Linked DNA regions of Homo sapiens: region 2 is linked to region 1. The links are contacts of gene promoters, found by promoter capture Hi-C in blood cells and fetal thymus (Javierre and others, 2016). All regions are on one chromosome and are shown on one strand. Each heading gives the region's core, a stretch centred on a gene start or on the middle of the fragment in contact. The rest is flanking DNA. Distances are from core to core; before and after follow the strand shown. Region 1 holds the start of SMYD3-AS1 (SMYD3 antisense RNA 1). Region 2 overlaps SMYD3 (SET and MYND domain containing 3).

Region 1 (4,729 bases), core at 1,671-4,170:
GAGGAAAGATACACACCTTGAGTAGACTTCTTTTTGAGCAAGGATATCCAGAAGTAGAGTGTTAAGGCAAAGCAAAAGATTCTTTAGACTGCACTCAAGTCTGTCTTTATAGGCATTTCTTGCTTGTGTAGCATGGAAAGGACCACTGCTTGCTCAGTGTGGCTTTTTTTTCTGCTATGCTGGACCATGTAAGTAGCCATTGAGATAATTTATTCCTGAGTCAAAATAAGAGGGCATTAAATTTAGTAGAACTGAAGTTGGCACTGGCTAGACTGATTACTATGATGGGATCCCTTGGAGAGCATCACTGGTGAAAGCACCTGGATTCTATTTAGAAAAACTTAAGTATGTAAGTTGCCTTCTTTGGGGGATGAAACTTATAATGAACTATTGTAGAGGGTATGAAAGCCCACGGCATGTTTCTATCATATACTATATATATATATGCTATACTAAGATGTTATGCATGGGTCAGGGTCCTTGGTAAGGCTCACCTGTCATTTCTTATGTAGTTTATATTTGTTTCTCTTTGCGCAAGGATTTGGTGAGTTATCTTATGGACAATGAAAGGAGAAATGTCCTAATGCAGAGTTCGCTCCTAAGTTTAAATGAGAAATATCTAAAATCCTAAACCATGAACATGGTTCATGGTTTAGAACCCTTAAAATGGAATTACAGTACTTTTAAATTGGTAGGTGTAAGGAACATGGCTGCACTGCAGCCAGGCAGGATGGGCTGAGGTAAACATCCCGGGTGACTCAGCAAGTCTGTAGCGCAGGCGCGCAACTCCATGTGTAATATAAACAGCTATGTAGCCATAACATGGGAGGGCCATCACTTGGCTCTTTGCCACTGTTGTCTTTAAAAGGTATAATTGCCCTGGTGACACTGTGCAGGCGTGCTTGCACCCAAAGAAAGAGAGAGAGCACCAGATCTGTCTGTCTTGCAGCGGGGAGCCAGGACACAGCTCAGCTTGCTTGCGCTCAGAGGGAAAGAGTTAAGCTGTTGACCCCAAAGGGAGAGAGAGCCAGCAGAGATCTGTGCTTGGGAGTGGCTGGAACAAGCAGCCGAGACACACAGTGTAAGAGAGCTGCTGAATAAAATTGTATTTCACCTACCCGTAGCCCCCTGAGTGTTCTTTCAGCTGTCTGCCATTCATCTACCCACTCCCTTCCGGCCTCAGCATGGGCTGGAACCTGACCCTGGACCTAACAATGGGGATCTTAGGGACTTAAGAGATCATCTAAATGAACTCTTTACAGATGAAGAGACTGAATCCCCAATGGTTAAATGACTTGTCTAAGTCCACACATCTAGTTAGACGCTGAGCCAAGACAGAACCTGATTTCTGGTTTCTAGATGTGCACCCCTTACTCAGTGGCATGTACTGTAATTCACAGTTTCCATTCACTTGTTGCCAAGGTCTGCCACTTCCGAGAGTTTCACAGTTTTGGTGTAAGTGTACATTGCCAAATGAGAAATAGCTTGGAAATATAACTGAAGAGACATTATCTGTTGTGACTGCAGCTGAAGCACCAACTTTTAACCAGTATTAGCACTGCTTATTTCAGCTCCTATCCTTATCTCAAATAATTCTGCCTTCCTATAACACATGATGGGGACCCCTGGGAGCCGCCAAAAAGGACACTTACTCTGAGGTCTTGCCCAGGTCTCTGCTTCTTCCTCCTTGTTCCCAGATGGCAAACGGACATCCTCATAGTAAGACTGGGCTGCTTTCCACCTGCGCAGCCCCATGGTAAGCACCTGCAGCTCCAGAGGGAATTTATTTTAGTAAAACAAACAAACCTGGAGACCAGGAGATCAATTATCAGTAGTTTGGTAATAATTGAAAACTAGGTCAGAGGCTTCTATTCCTTTTTCCATGAGAGCTGGATATGTGAGGTTGTTCTTGATGAAAGCTGAATTTTTAAATGCAGGTTAATGGCTTTCTTGGAAGCCAGCAAGCAATTAAGGTTTTCTCATCCATGCAGAAATTACAGCTGCAGGGGGCAATTTTTAAAAATTCCTTTGGATTCTTAGAACATACTATATTTATTTATTTTCCCTTAAATTCTGACCTTAAGCTTAAAAATAAGTTTGTTAATACTAACGTTGTTTTCCCTTGAGCTAGCTTTGAACCTCAAATGAATTGCAAACTGCGAAGTGACTGCTGTAGGGCTACTCTTCAGTAAGCTGGTCCAGTTATATGGTAATGAATCCATTTATAAAAAAAATTGTATGTGAGCTGTTTCCAAGGCTATTATAGTATTTCTTTATCAGACTATACATAATTTTACGTTTGTAACATGGTACAGTTCCAACTGAATAGGCAGTAATTTTCTTTATTAGAGTTGCATTTTAGAGTGGTTCATTCATCAGATTTTTATCAAATATATTCTTCGTGTCATTCATTGTGATAGGTTCTGGAATATGATTAAGAAATGGTCCCTGAACTCCAGGGGCTCACAGTCTAGGAAGAAAAAAGACAAATAAAATTATACCAATATAATGAATGCAGTTCCATGGCATATGAAGAGTGTTATAGAAACACAGAGCAAAGATGTAACCCTACCTAGTGTCAAAGAAGACTACACAGAAGATGGTGCATTAGAAGGAAGAGAAAGAATTGGCTGCACCAACAGGAGGAGGGGAAAGGACCTTCTGAGAAAGAGAAGAGTGTGTGCAAAGCAGTGGAGGCCTCAGGGAGGATGGTGGTCTGCTAATACTGAGTTTAGTGTGGTTGTCTTTGTCTTACGTTGCTTGCAGGGAATAAAGCTAGTATTTGCTTTGCTAGCTGGACTGAGCTGGGCTATACTAAGTTGTCTGACCTTTATCCCGTACACAACAGGAACTACAGGAGGTTTTCAAGAAAGGGAGTGAAGTCAGATTCATAGTTGAGAAAAACATTCTAGTAACTAAGTGGTGAATAGAATGAAGAATGGGAGCACTGATTGGAAAGCATTTATAATAGACGGTGGAGGGCAAGTTTTAGGAAGCAGGCAGTGATTGTGATGTCAGAATCAATTTGTATGATATTTAAATAGTCCACCCGGAACTCAGTAAAGCAAAGATTGTTGAAGAGGGTGAGCTTGAGAGACTGGATGGATGTTGATAACATTAATTGTGTGAGGGTGTGATCTCTTTGCTGAGATTTTAAGTACGGTAATTTTCTGATGTGATACCTGTATTCATAGCGTAACCTGTGACCCTATTTGGATAGCCCTTATGCCTCTGTATTATGATTGTCAGTCACTTCCCTGAACTATAAACTTCTTGAGGTCAGAGATAAGTTTTAGTGGTTCTTGTTCCACAGCCTCTGACACAGGGCTTAGTTATGTAATAGGTGCTTGGTAGATTTTGGATGTTTAGACGTGGATGCATCAGCCATCTACTTAAGAATTCCTCTTTCGAATTCTTCCTTTGCACAAGAAGACCTTTGTTTCTTAACCCAAAGAAGACGAGCTCTGTAAGTCCGTTATAATTTTCATTTTATGGCCAAGTTTCTCTGGACTTTCATTTTCCAGAAACTACCTATCTTAGATTTTGCTCTTTCCTTAGTGACAACTCAGTAAAGTTCCTATTGTTCAGAGATTACATGATGAAGTAGATATATACATGTGTGTTTTTTCTTCTTTAAGTTTGGCTATTTGAACCTGTGGCTCTGTGGTGTAAACAGTAATTCCTTTCCAGATTTATTTATTTGGAAGTTTTTGGGTCTTTAAAAATTACTCCTGTGTTTCTGGTCTTGAGTTAAATCCACTTATAATTGCCCTAGGGGTTCCCATGGCATCAGCACAGCTGGAGGTCTGGTGGGCTTTTGTAAATGGCATTTGGAAGAGTGATTCATTTGCCAAAGCATTAGCAATCTTTTGTATTGTTTCCATGTGGTTTTTGTCTAAAGAGACAAGTGCTGGGATTTTATTTATTTAATAAACTTTGTTTGAATGAGCTAATTTCCCCACTGTCCAGAATTACTAAGGGAAGACCTGAGCATTTATTTCAAGGACTTATTCTATCCATTCCTTGCTTCAGTGGGGAGCAGTCACTTCTGTAGCCACCAACTACCTGATAGTCTAGTCTTTTCTGTGATTAAATTATAAAAATAATCTCTTTGTGAACTTGTCTGCTTTTGGTATAAGGTCGCATATTTAAAGAGCAATCTGTGATGAGATATGTTGGCTTCATTTTCTGTTTGTTTTCTAAAGAAAGGAAAAATAGATACATTTCCATTTCAAAATTCTTTTTTTTTTTCTTTTTTTGCGATGGAATCTTGCTCTGTCACCCAGGCTGGAGTGCAGTGGCGCAATCTCGGCTCACTGCAAGCTCCGCCTCCCAGGTTCACACCATTCTCCTGCCTCAACCTCCCGAGTAGCTGGGACTACAGGCGCCTGCCACCACGCCTGGCTAATTTTTTGTATTTTTAGTAGAGACGGGGTTTCACCGTGGTCTCGATCTCCTGACCTTGTGATCCGCCCGCCTCAGCCTCCCAAAGTGCTGGGATTACAGGCGTGAGCCACCGTGCCCGGCCTTCAAAATTCTTTTTAAGAGCCTATTATATGCCCAACTCTTGTATTACTTTCTCTTTTTTCACGTTCACACCAACCCTACTTGAGAGCTGTTTTTCTCCTCACTTTGCTGTTGAGAACAGTGTTTCGGAGAGTTTAAGGAATCTATACAAGTCCCTTAGTAGTTCATATCAGAGGTTGTTTTACACCCAGGTTTTCTGTCA
Region 2 (4,511 bases), core at 926-3,425, 110 kb before region 1:
TCAAATTGTTTCTGAAAGTTGACTTCATTCGTACTGAACCATCTTCACCAGCATTTGACATTGTGGGATTTAAAAACTGTTGCCAATTTTTACATTAGCACTTTAATTACAATTATATTTATCATTTCTAGATGGTATTTTTTTTCCTAGCTAGACATTAAAAAATTTTCTTTATCCTTCCTCATATTTTCAATCTCTTATTCCTTTAAACATCTTAAACATATTTACTTTAAATTCTGATAATACCAAATTAGAAACTCTTTGTGAGTTGATTCAGCAATATAATACTTCTGCTGAGTCTTGTTCACTGATCTTTGTTTCTTTGTTTTCTTTGTGAGAATTTTTAGTTTATTTATATTTTGAGACAGGGTCTTGGTCTATTACCCAGGCTGGAGTGCAGTTGTACAATCTCGGCTCAGTGCAACCTCTGCCTCCCGGGCTCGAGCGATCCTCCCATCCCAGCCTTCCAAGTAGCTGGGACCATAGGCACACATCACCACGCCCAGTTAATTTTTCGTAGAGACAGGGTCTCCCTACGTTACCCTGGCTTGTGATTTTGTTTTTTAAGCTGTAAGTTCACACTCTTTAGAAATTCTTTGAGGCCTGGATTGAAGGTGTATTCACCCTGAGTGAATTTGCCTTTTGTTTTGATGGATAACTAAGGCATTAACAACCTTGGATCCTGCTCAGGTTAATTTCTGGGCTTGAGGTTTCTTCTCCCACAAAGATAATATAAATTTAGGCTACAAGCTTGGTTAGATGCCAACTTCTGCTTATGAGTCTAGAAAAAAATTATCCCCCTCTGTCCAGTATTTAGGGTCTAGATTGAGAACTTCTTTGCTCTCCCTTGTGTGGAATAGATTTTTTGTAATTTACAGTGATTCTAACTCACAGCATATAGTCCTTGGAAAATCCTAGGTCTGTTCAGGAGTTTGGTTTTAGACTTTCCAGTCTGGATGAGGCCCACACACAGCCTCCAGTGCTTTGTGCCCACGTCTCCGTCAAGGGGAAAGTTCAGGATCCTCAGGTTAGCTAAATGTTTCTAGTGAGAAAGCTAGCTTCAGAGTTTACTTACTGGCCTGGTATCTTTACTTGACTGTAATACTCTAAGGATATTTCTTTCTTATCACTTAAATCATGAATTTTATTTTAATGTTCTCTTTTTAAATACAACTTCTTTTATGCCTTTATTTTTCTTCATTTTTTATTATATTTTCAATAATGCAGAAAAGGTGAAGGAATACAACCAGAAATTTAGCACCTAGATTCATCAATTGTTAGCATTCTAAAAACAAAGACGTTCTCTTTTATAACAATGCCATAGCACGTCTTAGACAATTAGTAACAATTCTCTAATATTTTCTGTAATACCTAATCCATATCAGATTTTCCCACTTGTTCCTAGGTATCTTTTTTGCATATTTTTCCCCAAATGAGGGTACAAACAATGTACTGATGCATTTAGAAGATATTTGTCAGTGCGTCTATCTGGGTTGTTGGGGTCACCATATTGTCCAATATGGAGATGTATTTTATTGTTTGGCATTTTCCTGAAGTCTGCTTATGAGTTTTTTTTTTTTTTTGAAATGGAGTCTTACTCTACTGCCCAGGCAGGAGTGCCATGGCGCTATCTCGGCTCACTGCAACCTCTGCCTCCCGGGTTCAAGCGATTCTCCTGCCTCAGCCTCCTGAGTAGCTGGGATTGCAGGTGTGCACCATCACGCTTGGCTAATTTTGTATTTTTAGTAGAGACGGGGTTTCACCATGTTGGCCAGGCTGGTCTTGAACTGCTGACCTCATGACCTGCCCCTGTTGGCCTCCCAAAGTGCTGGGATTACAAGTGTGAGCCACCGTGCCCGGCCTTGAGTTTGTTTTTCACATTAGTCCAGAGTGCTCCATCTTTCGCTCTCTATTCGGTTTCCTTGTGAGTTATTGACTGTTAGAGTATACAATAGAAAAAATATTTTTATGTCCCTTTTAAGGAATTATACCTTTCAAGTGGAAGATACACACTGACTTTCCTCCAAATAGTTACACATTTTAGATTTTTGTCGTGTCAGTGGACTCATCTCAGGCAGGATTACACCCCAGGGCTTCCTTTAAAAAAGGAAAGTGACATTGGCTTTACGTAACAGAAGCAGTTTGGACATTTCTTTGGACAGTTGAGTTCCGCTGGCCCCTTTCTGTGGCATGCTGCTGCTCAGCCCAGCTGCATGAAGACAGGACAGAGAACGATGGCCACTGAGAGTGATCCAAAGTACTCTGTGGGAGAAGGCAGATGGATAAATATTTTTTCTTAAATGCAAAGCTAACTTAATGTTACTGCCCATTACTGGTAACTTTCTTTAGGGCTTAAGACTTGAAGAATTTAATGTTGCCTGACAAAGTTTTAAGATGGCTCAGCATTAAAAAAAAATGGTGTCTTTGAACAGTAATGAGCGCCAAGTAAGAAATATGGGTGTGCTGACTCTTTTTGATGATCTCAAAGTTATTTATTTAACTACATGCATGAAGCCCCAGCGTGTGTGTGTTTTTCTTTGTCACTGACTTCACAGCAGCTCAGTAGGATTTTAAATATGTATATTTTATATTTTCCTGCACCTGCCCCATGACAATATACATAGACCATGCAAACAAAGATGTATTTAGTGAAGAGATTGCGAAACTGTTTTATTACTGTCCGGATCTCCATTGGAAGTGAAGCTGCTGTTTCACATCCTCTTTAGGCATATCTAGCCGCCAGCAACTGTGCAGATTAGAATCATGAGCTTCTCTTCCACATGCGTGTGGCCATTGTGGTGATGACCGATGAATCATCGCATTTCAACTGGAATGAACAAAAATAGAAAGCTCAGCAGCAGCATTTTTTAGAGAGGTAAAAATCTGCATAAATAAAGAAAATTAAGTGTTTCCATGAATTTTACCTACTAGAAAGTGGAAAAATGTATTTGATAATAGAGCATATATATAAGTTTTATAGTACTGCTAACATAAACATGAGTGGATAATTTTGGGGCTCAGCAAGTTTAGCTGCAAAATGGCTTTGCTATTCTCCATTCCTCTTTGTTTTAATGATCATTCCTCCATATTCAGAAGATTCTGTTTCTTGATTTTTAGGACTGTTCCTAAATATTCCGGTAGCTGTCTTTGGAAGACTGAAAAAATATTTTCTCTTGTCCTTATAGAAAATGCTGGATAGGGCAGAACCTTCTCTCTTCCTGAAAGAGGCCACTGATCTAAATTGGTTTCTCTCTTAGCCTTACTTCTTGGAGGCATACTTATTATGTATTTACTTACTTTGGCATGCTATTTTAAAAATTCCTTGGTTTTTATTTTAAACAATTCCTTCATATATTTCACTTAAATAAATGAGCTGATACTATGAGCTTCAACATATTGGTTTCAAAACTCATCTCTTTGTCTTTTTTCCTTTGTTTTACCTCATATACAGTTAATTGACAGTTCTGTTCATTTTTCCTTTGAGATATCTTGCCATGCTTGGTTTACCATTCCAGCACAGAGTACACAACTCATAGCTGGATTGCTATGACATTTGTCTCCTCTTTGGTTATCTTGCATTCTTTTACCAAATAAAGCTTTCACAAATGTATTATCTCCCTACCATTTTGTGACCTGGGATGTGAAATCTAATCTCTGACTGGATTTCTAGACTCCTCTCTTGTCTTTTTCAACCTTATCATCCACAACTTGCCATTGTAAAGACCAAGTTCCAGTGTTCCATTAGATCAATACCACCATTTCTGTAAACAAACAGATGCAAACATTAAGAACCACAGTCTGGCTAATTCTGGAACAGTACCTAAAATATTAAACCATGACCATCTTTTGCCTGTTGGTGTTAGAAGGGAGCTTTTGGTGTTACGAGAGAGTCACCAAAGAGGACAGGTTATGGAAGCTAGCTCTGCAGAGCTCTTGATAGCAGGAGTTCACAGAGATTATAAACTAGGAAATTCAAGGTGCTTCAGAAAGGTTCTTCTTGAAGGAAGAGAAAGAACTGTGTTCAATGAGAGAAAGCAGCAGAAAAGCACACTAAGTTCGTTCTTTATAGGCAAGTTTAAAACTGGGATTTACTCAATGGCCGATGGCCATTACAGATGCTAAGATATTCTCAGGGACCATGAGAAGATCATCATGCTGAAGTGAGAATGGAGCCAGGGAGGGGAGCATCAGAGTGGGACTGGTTTTGACCTTTGAACAGGGCCACTGTCCTGGCGTGGAAGTGCAGTAGACAGGGCAGGTTGGGTGAACAAACCAGGTAGCTGAGTGTTCCCCTGCCCTTGTTCTAGCAAACTTGGGTGTGCAGGGCCTGAGAATGTTCTGTTGACTTCTGCTGCTCTGTTTTGCTCATGTTATTCCTTTGCAATGGGTGCCTTTCTCCTATCCATTTTCTCAAAGATCATATGTGCTATAATGGTGGAAACACGGACTTAGGAGATAACCTGACTCAAAACTCACTGGAGTTTTGTCTTCTTGCGGATGAGCTGGACCCT

Evidence for each region. Contacts are between HindIII fragments. The CHiCAGO score rates a contact against its expected background, and 5 or more counts as called.
Region 2: a contact is called between a fragment that was not itself captured here and the fragment with the promoter of SMYD3-AS1 in region 1, in 1 of 17 cell types (megakaryocytes). The highest score is 6.1, in megakaryocytes.

The regions. Positions count from the first base shown.
Region 1 is chr1:246,106,817-246,111,545 of GRCh38, reverse strand. It overlaps SMYD3-AS1 (SMYD3 antisense RNA 1), which reads right to left and starts at 2,920. Exons shown (of 4, transcript NR_183265.1): 1 at 2,829-2,920; 2 at 1,653-1,764; 3 at 17-215. All of the region lies in intron 5 of SMYD3 (SET and MYND domain containing 3), which reads left to right. RefSeq lists enhancers at 494-993, 994-1,495. The HindIII fragment of the contact is 2,656 bases long and covers 2,087-4,729 here.
Region 2 is chr1:246,213,359-246,217,869 of GRCh38, reverse strand. All of the region lies in intron 5 of SMYD3 (SET and MYND domain containing 3), which reads left to right. Among named protein-coding and RNA genes, the nearest start is that of SMYD3-IT1, 110 kb to the left of the region's middle. The HindIII fragment of the contact is 2,846 bases long and covers 753-3,598 here.